2 separate regions of the Homo sapiens genome follow, and region 2 is linked to region 1. Evidence: promoter capture Hi-C in 16 types of primary human blood cells and fetal thymus (Javierre and others, 2016). All regions are on one chromosome and are shown on one strand. Each heading gives the region's core, a stretch centred on a gene start or on the middle of the fragment in contact. The rest is flanking DNA. Distances are from core to core; before and after follow the strand shown.

Evidence for each region. Contacts are between HindIII fragments. The CHiCAGO score rates a contact against its expected background, and 5 or more counts as called.
Region 2: the fragment with the promoter of GPHA2 here is called in contact with a fragment that was not itself captured in region 1 in 1 of 17 cell types (endothelial precursors); the score reaches 5.5 in endothelial precursors.

Annotation. Positions count from the first base shown.
Region 1 is chr11:65,015,757-65,021,812 of GRCh38, reverse strand. ARL2 (ARF like GTPase 2) reads right to left here. Exons shown (of 5, transcript NM_001667.4): 2 at 3,339-3,449; 3 at 3,080-3,242; 4 at 1,314-1,394; 5 at 1-92. It overlaps ARL2-SNX15 (ARL2-SNX15 readthrough (NMD candidate)), which reads right to left. Exons shown (of 11, transcript NR_037650.2): 2 at 3,339-3,449; 3 at 3,080-3,242. It overlaps MIR6879 (microRNA 6879), which reads right to left and starts at 3,308; the gene lies at 3,243-3,308. The HindIII fragment of the contact is 936 bases long and covers 2,781-3,716 here.
Region 2 is chr11:64,932,049-64,938,104 of GRCh38, reverse strand. GPHA2 (glycoprotein hormone subunit alpha 2) reads left to right here and starts at 2,212. Exons shown (of 4, transcript NM_130769.4): 1 at 2,212-2,271; 2 at 2,645-2,747; 3 at 2,930-3,114; 4 at 3,231-3,634. The coding sequence starts at 2,645. The coding sequence ends at 3,332. It overlaps PPP2R5B (protein phosphatase 2 regulatory subunit B'beta), which reads right to left. Exons shown (of 14, transcript NM_006244.4): 12 at 5,213-5,340; 13 at 4,859-4,960; 14 at 3,630-4,408. The coding sequence ends at 4,261. The HindIII fragment of the contact is 3,228 bases long and covers 810-4,037 here.

The sequences.
Region 1 (6,056 bases), core at 1,999-4,498:
CAGTCGATGCCCGGCAGCAGGTTCTCCCCGGTGACGGCGCTGCAGCCCTGGATGCACCAGTGGTGGCTGCGGATGGAGTCCAGCTCCAGGACCTGGGAGGACAAAGGTGCTGATGGTGGTGGCCAGTGACTGCAGACCCTGCCTGCCGTCAGCCCCTTCCCTCCCCAGCCCAGAGGAACTCCACGCCTTCCTCAAGGCCCTGCTCCATGTCATCCCATCCAGGAAGCCCCGCCGGTCCCAGGGAGAGTTTGTCAGACCCCAGGGGCACCTGGGCTCTCTGTCCAGTTCCATGCCAGTGCTGCCCCTTAGTGATGTAAATGCAGCATGGGCTCCTGAGCATCCACCAGGATCCGGGCATCGTGCTAGGAGCCCCACACACCCTCTCTCACTCATTCTCCTCAAGCCCTCATGAGCCAGGGATTGTGTCGACCATTTCACCAAGGAGGAAACCAAAGTTCAGAGAGGTTAAGCAACCTGCCTAGGGGAACATAGCTCATAAGTGGCAGAGCCAAGATTTTAACCCTGCTCTTTCTCACTGTGGTGCTTGAGCACTAGAATCATGGTTAAAATGTGGGCTCTGGGGTCAGACACAGGCTTCCTGTCTATTTAGTGGCTGTGTGACCTGGGACAAGTTACCTAACCTCTGTGAGCCTGCTTCACCATCTGTAAAATAATAGTTCTCACCTCATGAGGTGGTTGTGAGAATGAAATGAGTTAATCCATGCAAGGAGCAGAGCATACTGAAAGCACTGACTTGTGCTGGCTACCGTTAGCCTGTGAACAACACATGCGCAGCTCTGCCTTCCCCAGGCTGTGGGCCACCCCATGCCTTATTAATCACTGGATCCCCAGTGCCCTGCATAGGTCCTGCCACCTAGCAGGGCTAGGCTAATAAATGCTTTTCTTATTATTATTTTACTTCTTTCTTTTTTTTTTTTTTTTTGAGACGAAGTCTCACTCTTTTCCCACAGGCTAGAGTACAATGGCGCAATCTTGGCTCACTGCAACCTCCACGTCCTGGGTTCAAGCGATTCTCCTGTCTCAGCCTCCTGAGTAGCTGGGCTTACAGGCGCACGCCACTGCACCCAGCTAATTTTTGTATTTTTAGTACAGACGGGGTTTCATCATGTTGGTCAGGCTGGTCTCGAACTCCTGACCTCAGGTGATCCACTCGCCTTGGCCTCCCAAAGTGCTGGTATTACAGGCGTGAGCCACTGCACCCAGCCTTTTTGGTTATTTTTAATAAATGCTTTTAAAATAAATAAATGTATGCCCCTTTCCCTCAGCGAGCCTGTCCCGGGGCCTGGACTCACCTCGCGGATGGCGTTAGAGGACAGTGCTCCAGGCAGGTCCTGCTTATTAGCAAAGATGAGGAGGGTTGCTCCGGCCAGGCGCTGGGGGAGAAAAGATAGAGGGGTGGGGTGGGGACTCAGAGGACAGCCTGACCCCTCCTCTAATGGCCCAGAGCATCTGGGGTGAAGGATCGACCTGGAAGATCAAGGTGAGGCCCCGTGGTGGTGGGAGAGGCCCAGGAGTGAGTTTGTGGACGTAGCCATCAAGGCTGGCCCACATGAATGGAGCAGCCCTGGGCCAGGGTTCTGGTTCCAGCCAACCACCACCCAGGGGACACCGCTGTCCCCATGCTCCAGCTTCCTCTTCCATGAACAGGGAGGGGTGTTGCATAAGATGATCCCTGAGCTCTCCGTGGTTCTAGACTGCTCCAATCTGATGACCAGACATGCACAGAGGATGTGAACTCTCCCTCTTCTGGGTTCACACAGCCCTTTAACCGTTCCACTCCCGACAGGCCTCACTGTCCACCTCTGATTCTAGTTGTTTCCACATATGTGTCTGTGATTGGGAGAGATGTGGGTGGACGGGTCTAACCCTTGGGCCTTGACCTGCCTTGACCAGCATTTGACGGCCCTGATCTCATCTGACCTGCTCCACCCACATAGGAGATGTGTGCGGTGTGCCCAGGACAGTCCCCACTCTGCCTGCAGAATCCCCCCTTTCACTCTCACAAGTGTCCTCATTTTCAACTAAATGCAATTTTGTAGCCTGAATCAAACATTGGAACACAAAAAGTATATTAGTGGAAAAACGTGAAATTCAAATAAAATCTGTAATTAAGATAATAGTAATTCACCAGTGTTGATTTATTAGTTTGGACAGGCCACGGTTAGGTAAGATGGGGAAGCAAGGTAAAGGGTATATGGGGGACCTCTGACCTCTGTACTATCTTTGCAAGTGTCCTTCTTTTTTTTTTTTGAGACGGAGTCTCACTCTGTTGCCCAGGCTGGAGTGCAGTGGCACAATCTCGGCTCACTGCAAGCTCCGCCTCCCAGGTTCACGCCATTTTCCTGCCTCAGCCTCCTGAGTAGCTGGGACTACAGGCGCCCGCCACCATGCCTGGCTAATTTTTTGTATTTTTAGTAGACACGGGGTTTCACCATGTTAGCCAGGACGGTCTCGATCTCCTGACCTCGTGATCCGCCCGCTTCAGCCTCCCAAAGTGCTGGGATTACAGGCGTGAGCCACCGCACCTGGCCCCTTCCTTTTTTTTTTTTTTTGAGACAGGGTCTTGCTCTGTCGCCCAGGAGGCTGGAGTGCAGTGGCACGATCACAGCTCACTGCAGCCTCAACCTCCTGGGCTCAACTGATCCTCCTGTCTGAGCCTCCAGAGTAGCTAGGACTATAGGTGCGTGCCACCACCCCCAGCTGAGGTCACACAGCAAAGAGTCAGACTCTTGAGCCAGGCTCCATGGCCTCTCGAAGCTTCATACTGGCCTTGGGTTATCCTCCCTAAAGCCCAGTGATGTGGGTGTCATCATCACCATTTCAAGGCATAGAAACTGATGCTCAGGGTAGTGACGTAGTAACACCACAGGGACGTTAACTCAATCTCAGTCCACAGCATGTGTCCTGCCTCTGGCACCATGGGCCTCCCATGGTGGGGGCCCAGAGAAGGAAGGGATCCTGCCTCTGGTTTCCCTCTGGGGCCACGGGCCCCTCTGGGCATCTGCTGAGAAGGCAGCCACACGTCCATACATGTACACAAAGGGTAGGAGCTGCCCACCTCCTCCACCAGCAGGCTCTGGAGCTCCCGCTGGCAGTCCTGCATGCGCTGGCGGTCTGCGCTGTCCACTACCCAGATGAGGCCATCGGTGCTCTCAAAGTAGTTCCGCCAGTAGGACCGCAGGGACTTCTGGCCACCCACATCCCAGATGTTCAGCTTGAATCTGGGCAAGGAGCGGGTGACAGGAGGGTCAGCTGGGCCCCTCTCCCACCTTCCCTGCCCTGCTCTGGGCTGGCCCTCCCATGGGGCCCCTGCTCACCCTCGGTGCTCCAGGGTCTTGATGTTGAAGCCCAGCGTTGGGGAGATGGTGTCGATGTCCTCCCCATTGAACTTCTTCAGGATGGTTGTCTTTCCAGCATTGTCCAGGCCACTGGGGCGCAGCAGGTTAAGGAGAAGTCCCTGTTCTCTGCCAGGTGGTGACATTGTTGCAGAGCCCCTTAGGGGACTCATTATTTCCCACCATGTATCAAACTGAGTTGAGCACATGCCTGACCATAATCGGCCCACAATAAATATGAAAGTATCAAATTATAAATATCATCTCTACTGACCAAAGGCTCCTTAATTTGTTGAACACCTACTATGTGCCAGACCCTCTTCTGGGTGCTAGAGGACAAAGCCCTGCCCTTAGGAAGCTTACACTCTAGCGGGAAGACAGTCAATAAAGTACAAACAAATGAGAAAAGAAGGCCCTGCCAGATCCCGGCTAGCGCCATCAACACAACAGAGAGGCTTTCCAAGAGGGCCATCGGAGGAGGCTCTTTCAGCTCAGGTGCCGGGGAAGGCCTCTCTGAGGTGTCTGGAGCTGAGACCCAAAATACAAGGAGCAAGCTTTTTGAAGAACTAAGGTAAGAACAAATATCTGGAGGCAGCCACCCTCATTTGTTTCTGGAATATTCCAGACCTGCTACTGCACAGTGCAAATTAATGGGTGTGCTTACCTGTGGAAGGAACCACCCTCCTCTATCTTCCCAACACTGCAGCTCAGTTGGGCATGGTGGGGTGGGCGGGTCCTGGACTCGACCACCTTTCCCTGCTCATCGGAGCTGGGGCAAATGACCTAGGCCCAGGAGAGGGGTGAGGAGGGCATTTCCCCTGAGGCCCAGCCTTAGCCCCTGGAACCTAGCCGCTGATGACCCCCTGCCCCCAAGCCATCATCCATGTTTCCTTCCCCTCTTGATCATTCCCACTGGCTGATGAGCTTGCCGTTCTTTCTCCCACCTTAAAAAGAGCAAATAGGCCGGGCGCGGTGGCTCACACCTGTAATCCCAGCACTTTGGGAGGCCAAGGTGGGTGGATCATCTGAGGTCAGGAGTTCGAAACCAGCCTGACCAACAAGGTGAAACCCCATCTCTACTAAAACTACAAAAATCAGCCAGGCGTGGTGGCGGGCCCCTATAGTCCCAGCTACTCGGGAGGCTGAGACAGGAGAATTGCTTGAACCCGGCAGGCAGAGGTTGCAATGAGCCGAGATCACACCACTGTACTCCAGCCTGGGCGACTCAGCGAGACCCCGTCTGATTAAAAAAAAAAAAAGAGCAAACAAAGCCCTTGATCTCTCTGCCCCATCTAGTTATTCATTTATATCTTTCCTTTTACAGGAAATCTCAAAATAGTTGTTTGTGCTCACCCCCATTTCTGCCTTCTTGCTCTTTCAAGAACACACTCCCATCAGGCTTTTGCTGCTGCTGTGGCCAAAACTGTCCTTACCAAGGTCAGTCCCCAAAGACCTCCCTGTGGCCCTCTAGTGCTGGGACAGCGCTCAGTCATCTTCTGTTCCCCACTCAGCACCTGATGGAGTGGCTCACCCTCCTCCCCAGCACATGCGCTGCCCTTGGCACTGGGACACACCCTCACCTGGTTCTGCTCCTCACCTGACTTCATCCTGGTACAACCGGGTTCTCTTCTCTGGCCACGCTCATCCCTGGGTGACCTCATCCAGGATCACAGCTTCAAATACCATCTCTATCCTGATAACACCCAAATGTGCACCTCCCACACACTGGACCTCAGTGCCTACATCCAGCTGCCTGCCTGACACTTCTGGGCTGTCTCGGAGGCATCTCACATGGCACACACAGGCACACACAGGGTTCTCATCTCCACCCTGAACCTGCTCCTCCCCCAGTCCTCTCCATCTCAGCAAATGGTTCCTCACCCTTCTAATTGCTCAGGCCAGAAACTTCCATGACCTCACTACTTCCATCCTGGTCCAAGCCACCATCCTATCTCGCCTGCGTCACTGCAGTGGCCTAACTGGTCTGCGATTCCTTCTCTCCACTGCACTTCTCACTGAAAGGGAAAACCAAAAACCAAAAGGCCCTAGGTGAGGGGGTTCCCAGTCAACGCTCCTCCTCCCCACTCCAGCCATACTGCCCTCCTCACCAGTCCTCTGAACACGCCAGTTAGTCCTCCCAGGGCCTCTGACTTGCTGTTCCCTTTGCTTTAAAGTTTCCCCCCCCCCCGAATTGCTATATGGTTCAACCCTCGCCTCCCTCATGTACTCAATTGTCATTTTTTTTTTTTTTAACAGAGTTTCGCTCTTGTCACCCAGGCTGGACTGCAATGGCGTGATCTCAGCTCACTGCAGTCTCCGCCTCCCGGGTTCTGGCAATTCTCTTGCCTCAGCCTCCCAGGTAGCTGGGATTAAAGGTGTCCACCACCACATCCAGCTAATTTTTGTATTTTCAGTAGAGACGGGATTTCACCATGTTGGCCAGACTGGTCTCAAAACTCCTGACATCAGGCGATCCATCCGCCCCGGCCTTTCAAAGTGCTGGGATTACAGGCATGAGCCACTGCGCCCTGCCATCATACAGTGGCCTTCTTTGACCACCCTAAATTGCATTATTCTCCATACCTATATACGTAGTGGGAGTTCATCCTGGAGCAGTATAAGGCCCTGTTCCCCAGAAGCATGGTCCAAAGCATGGCCCATATATATATAGTATGTATGGAGAATATATATATGTATAAA
Region 2 (6,056 bases), core at 963-3,462, 83 kb after region 1:
TTGTGCCAGAGGTTAGGGAATGGGGTCTTTCAAGACTCACTGTCCTGAGCCCTGCTCACCCAAGAGACCTCTTCCCCAGTTCCAGTTTGGCCCCAAATGGTTGCCTCTCCATAGACAAAATGTTTCCCACCTCTCTATCCCTTTAACTGTTTGACAGTAATGCAGATTCGTTTATCAGATTAACTGGAAGTCAATCCAGGTTGGCACCCCTGGAGAAGGCCTGGCCACCTGAGCTGCCTTCAACTAAAGGACTGATCTGTAATAGACACTTTAGCCTCATGTGGCCGTGGAGAACCAAAATGATCTATGGAAATGTAGGGAAACTCATTTTAGCTCACAACAAAGGAGTCACTTTTTACCTGTTAGAGATGTCCAATATTAGAATGGGCTACCTCATAAGGTAATGAGCCTTGTCACCCAAATGCTTTAAACAGAAGCCATCATCTGTCACATGCCAGAGGGTGCCCCTCAAGAGTGGGAGAGCAGGGGCTGAACTGCTGAGTTCCCGCTGCGTCCTGTTGCTATGCTGCCTGCACCCTTGGTGGGGAGAAGAGAAGAGGTGGACTGCTGCGGAGGACCTGGCAAACAAGGACCCAGGTCTTGAGGGGATGGGGGCTGATGGGGAAACCGTAGGGTGTGGGAATTTAAGGATTAGTGACATTAGTAACATCACTTCCTCTCAAATTGCGTTTACAGCCTTTACTCGACTGTCCCAAACATGGCCTGTTTTACAAAGCTGCTAAGAAGCACAGCTCCAAATCTGGAGCTGTGAGTGCCCGCCCTGACTCTGACTAGCTTACAGTGAAGCTTTGGGAAGTTGTTTTCCGCTGAGCTCTTATTTTCTCATCCAGAAAATGAGGGGGTAGGATTTGGTGAGTTATAAAGTGCCTTCTAGCTCTAGCAGTCTGTGACTGGCCCTGCTCTTTCTGAGCAGATCAGTGAGGCAATGACCCCAAAGCGGGGCTGCCCAGAATCACCACAGGCTTCCTTTGGCTCTCCACCTTGCCCCAACCCCTCTGGCCACTGCTGCCTGGGGGTCTTTCTCCAGCTTGCCACATTCTTGCTCAAGTGTAGTTTAGCACCATGGATGGACAGCAGATTTGAATTTGAAATCAGCCCTAACATTAACTAGCTGGGTGACTTTTAGTAACTTTCTTTCTTTGAGCCTTAGTTGCCTCATCTATAAAACCAGAGTTGGACAAATAGATCAGCTTTGCTGGGGTTGATAACTTCAGGCCCTTTCAGGAGTCAGGTCCCTGTTATTCCAGGGCTAGGGGAGCACTCCAGCTCAGAACGTTACTCTGTAGCACAGGATGCGAATCATCCACTGATACCGTGGCCATGCAACTCTGAAACAGACAGCAACCCCCAAACCCCCGGCCCTGCCACCAAGCACATCTCAGGAGACCTCCACTGGTATAATTTCCCTTGTCCCTAAGAATCTCCTTCCCCAATCCCTTTCCTTTGCAGTTAGAAAAAGGCAAGCAGGACTGAGTTTAGTGGTTTTAAAATTAGGGGTGTGGCCAGGCACAGTGTCTCATGCCTGTAATTCTAGCACTTTGGGAGGCCTAAGCAGGCGGATCACTTGAGCTTAGCAGTTCAAGACCACCATGGGCAACATGGCAAAATCCTGTCTCTACAAAAAAATACAAAAGTTAGCTGGTCATAGTGGTGTGCCTGTGGTCCCAGCTACTCAGGAGGCTAAGGGGGAGGATGGCTTGAGTCTGGGAGGCTGGGAGGTGGAGGTTGCAGTGAGCCGAGATAACACCACCACACTCCAGCCTAGGTGACAGAGCCAGACCCTCTCAAAATAATAGTAATAAATAATAATAAAGTTAGGGGTGATCAGGCCCTGAACAGGGAAATGTTCTGTCCAAGGTCACAGAGCAAAGAGAACCCAGGTGTCCACAACTCAGCCAAGAGTCTTGACCCCTGTGTCGTCAGCTGCACACACGCTGCACACTCCACCAGCTCCTAGGCTTCTCTCCACATCTGACTTATCGAGGCCTGGGCTGTGGGTAGCTTTTTGGACAGAAAGAAGCAGAAAGCAGCAGGAGCTGCTCTCCGAGGACCGCACCTCAAAGAGCAAGATCCCCCAGGTGGGATCGCTCTGAGGCTTCAGGCAGGGGAGGCTGGTTTGAAAGCCGATCTCCAAGAGGGCGTGGCTCCAAAATGCTGGCAAATAAAAGCCTGGAGAGCCAGCACCAAGCTGGAGACCAGCAGGAGGCACAGGAAAACTGCAAGCCGCTCTGTTCCTGGGCCTCGGAAGTGGTGAGCTCGCTGAGGCAGGAGGAGCTCTGGGGAGGGTCTGGGAATGTGGACGAGGGCCCTGCAGGCCAAGATGGGGCAGATGGAGGGAGGAAGATGTTTGCGCTCCAGATGGCGAAGAAAATTCCAGGGAAGGGAGAATCACTGCACAGAGGGCTGACACACAGGTCCTTTCCAGAGACAGCTGCTCACACTCACACCCATACACACACACACACACACACAAAGGCAGATACAGGGAAAAGGCAGCACCATTCAGGCACACCTCACCTGTCAGACCAGCCAGCCCTGGCTCACTCACCTGGAATGCAGTATTTAAAGAACTCGCCATCCCACCTGCACACCCACGTAGAGACATCTCCCCACTGTGTTTCAGATGCCTATGGCGTCCCCTCAAACCCTGGTCCTCTATCTGCTGGTCCTGGCAGTCACTGAAGCCTGGGGCCAGGAGGCAGTCATCCCAGGCTGCCACTTGCACCGTGAGTACCTCTGGGACCGGAGGGCTAGGAGCAGTGGAGGTTCTGGGTGGGAGCAAAGAGCTGAGTGGACGGTGGGGCAGGCAGCACCCTAAAGGGCCCCACACTGAGGCACAGGCAACGGGAGCTGGGGCGAGGCAAACCTTGGCAGAGGCGCCGTCTACTGCTTGCCTATCTCCTTCTAGCCTTCAATGTGACAGTGCGAAGTGACCGCCAAGGCACCTGCCAGGGCTCCCACGTGGCACAGGCCTGTGTGGGCCACTGTGAGTCCAGCGCCTTCCCTTCTCGGTACTCTGTGCTGGTGGCCAGTGGTTACCGACACAACATCACCTCCGTCTCTCAGTGCTGCACCATCAGTGGCCTGAAGAAGGTGAGGAGGGCCCGGGCCCGGTGGATGGACGCTGGGGTCGCGGGAAGACCAGAGAGATGGAGATCCTAGACAGCCCTGAGAAAGGGGACTGCAGCACGGACTCCCCTCTCCCGCAGGTCAAAGTACAGCTGCAGTGTGTGGGGAGCCGGAGGGAGGAGCTCGAGATCTTCACGGCCAGGGCCTGCCAGTGTGACATGTGTCGCCTCTCTCGCTACTAGCCCATCCTCTCCCCTCCTTCCTCCCCTGGGTCACAGGGCTTGACGTTCTGGTGGGGGAAACCTGTGTTCAAGATTCAAAAACTGGAAGGAGCTCCAGCCCTGATGGTTACTTGCTATGGAATTTTTTTAAATAAGGGGAGGGTTGTTCCAGCTTTGATCCTTTGTAAGATTTTGTGACTGTCACCTGAGAAGAGGGGAGTTTCTGCTTCTTCCCTGCCTCTGCCTGGCCCTTCTAAACCAATCTTTCATCATTTTACTTCCCTCTTTGCCCTTACCCCTAAATAAAGCAAGCAGTTCTTGAATTTCTCTCTTTATTAAGTCTACCCCCAGCCACGGAAAGAGGAGTAGACCATGATTACTGTGAACCCCCCCTTACCCCAGGACACTGTGAATCTCTTCTTGCCTGTGCCCTCCCCCTCCCCCTGCCCAATAAATAAAAAGGGGACAAGGAAGTACACAGCGAGGGAAGGGAGGAGTGTGCACCCAGGACAGTGTCTGTGTAGAGGGTGAGCTGGGCGAGAATAAATAGACCATGGACCCCATGGTGGGGATAAGGAAGGACCTCGCATTGGCCAAGGCAGGGGCAGGCGAGGCGCTGAGTGCCCTTGCCCAAGGCCAGGAGCAGAGGGTGGGAGCCCGCCTGCAGCTGGAGCCTAGCTTTGCGGGGCAGGGGAAGATCCCTGATGGCAGCTTCCTGGTCAAGCTTGCCCTTGTCAAGTCCTGCCACGAGGGGCTGAGCATTCTGTTGCCAAGACCACCATTGCCTCTCCTCGTCTCCCCCCAGTGAAAGCTGGGCTGGGCAGGGAGTCCTCAGAAGCCACTCTGGCAAGGCCAGGGGTAGGTGTGTTTCTCTCTGGGCCCCTGGACAGGAGAAGGGATAGAGGGACTGACAGCTCTGGGTTTAGCTTTTCCCCTTCTGAGGTGCTGTCTAGCTCTGACCCCCACTGGCGGCCACCTGGGGTGTAAGCCGCTGGAGGGGGGCCTCCTTGGCCCCCTGGGTCCCCTGTAGCCGGCGTAGCCGCAGCTCCTCCAGACCTTGCCATAACTCCTGACGCTCCTGGGCCTTCTGCTGCTCCCTGGGGAGAGAGGGTGAGGCAGCTCCCTTTCCTGGGGCCCCCCACAGTCCAGACTCCCTCACAGTCCAGACTCCCTCACTACCACCCCACCGGCAAAGGGAAGGCATGGAACCATTTTTGTTCTGTGACTCCATAAAAACCCTCTACTGAGGGAAGAGAGCAGAGGACAGACAGATCCCAGCCTGCAGTCACAGAGAAGATGACGGGTGGGGCCTGAGTGGTTCTGGCTTCTGTAGGAAGCTACAGGGAGTCAGAACAAGTCTGAGCTACTCGAAGAATGACGGGAGGATACAGGGGCAGACAGTCAGGCATAGGATGGCAGGAGCATGGACAGTCTTGCAGCATCTGATCAGACAGAGTTTGGGGTAGTCCTCGGGTTCCCTCCAGCCATGGGGGTCTGACTCCTCCCTGCTCTTCTCCCTTCCCCCACGCCCAGCCCCCAACACTCACTGCTGCTTTTCCAGCTTGTAGGAGGCTGTGAGCTCATCAAACAGCTTCCCATTCATCTCCATGAAGGTCTTGAGCACATTGTAGATCAGTGATACGATGGTTCTTGGCAGTGTCAAGGAGGGATGAGGAGATGAAACAGCTTTGGTTTGCCCACCTCTCCCTTTCCCTGCCCTTCACATACAGCATTCCACCTGAACACAAGCACTGCCCACTTTCCTGTCCTTTTCACCACCCCTGGGCCATCTTTTGATGCTTTCTCTGATATTCTCCAGCTAGGAGTAACCCTGGGGTCGGGTCTGGACTGGCTGGCCCTGGTCCCAGTTTCTGTGAGTTAGGTCATGGCCTGGCACTCACTGGTTCCAGTGCTCCTTGGAGACTTGGTAGAGGGTCCCAAACACAGCAGGCAGCACAGTGTGGCAGTTGTCCTCAATGAGGCTTAGGATATACTCATTGTTCCAGAAATACAGAGCCCGCTCTGCAACCTGGGGCAGACAAGATGGCAGAGTGATTAACTGGCAGTGGCTTCTCTCTGTGTGCAAGGTCTGGTGTCCATCACTACCTCAACGCCCAGGCCCCCTGACCTTCACACACCCCACCTTCAGGGCTTATCTGAGCCCTGGAGGAAGCAACAGTGTTGAAGGGAAAAGAGTTCTAGATACGGAATCCAATGCTGCGGGGTGAATCCTAACCACTACAGACTCTACTATGCCATGTGACCTTGGGAGAGGCATTTAACCTCCCAGCCTCAGTTTTCTCATCTGTAAAATGGGCTAATAATACCTATCTCAACAGGATGTTATAAGAATCAAATGAGATACTAGACTTTTAGGTGTTTAATGAACCGAAGTGCCAGAATCACTGTGAGGAAGACTTGACTTCCACTGGGTTATGGCCCATAAGAACGGGAGGAAGTCTGCACATGCTTGCAGCAGAACATGAGTTAGTTAGCTGGGTTGGTGCGGGGAAGCCTGGCTGCATCCCAAAGCGAGTCTAATGAAATCTAAGGCCACTAGCAAAAGGGGAAAAGTGATAACAGTCCTCCATCACATTCTGGATCACACTTCAGTTTACCAAACATGTTTACACTCACAATCTCTTCCATCCTTATCCCCACCCTGTGAAGAGGTTGTTGGCCCATTTTACAGCTGCGGAAGCTTAATCAGAATCAGAGTGGTGCAGTGATTTGCTCAAGGCCCCT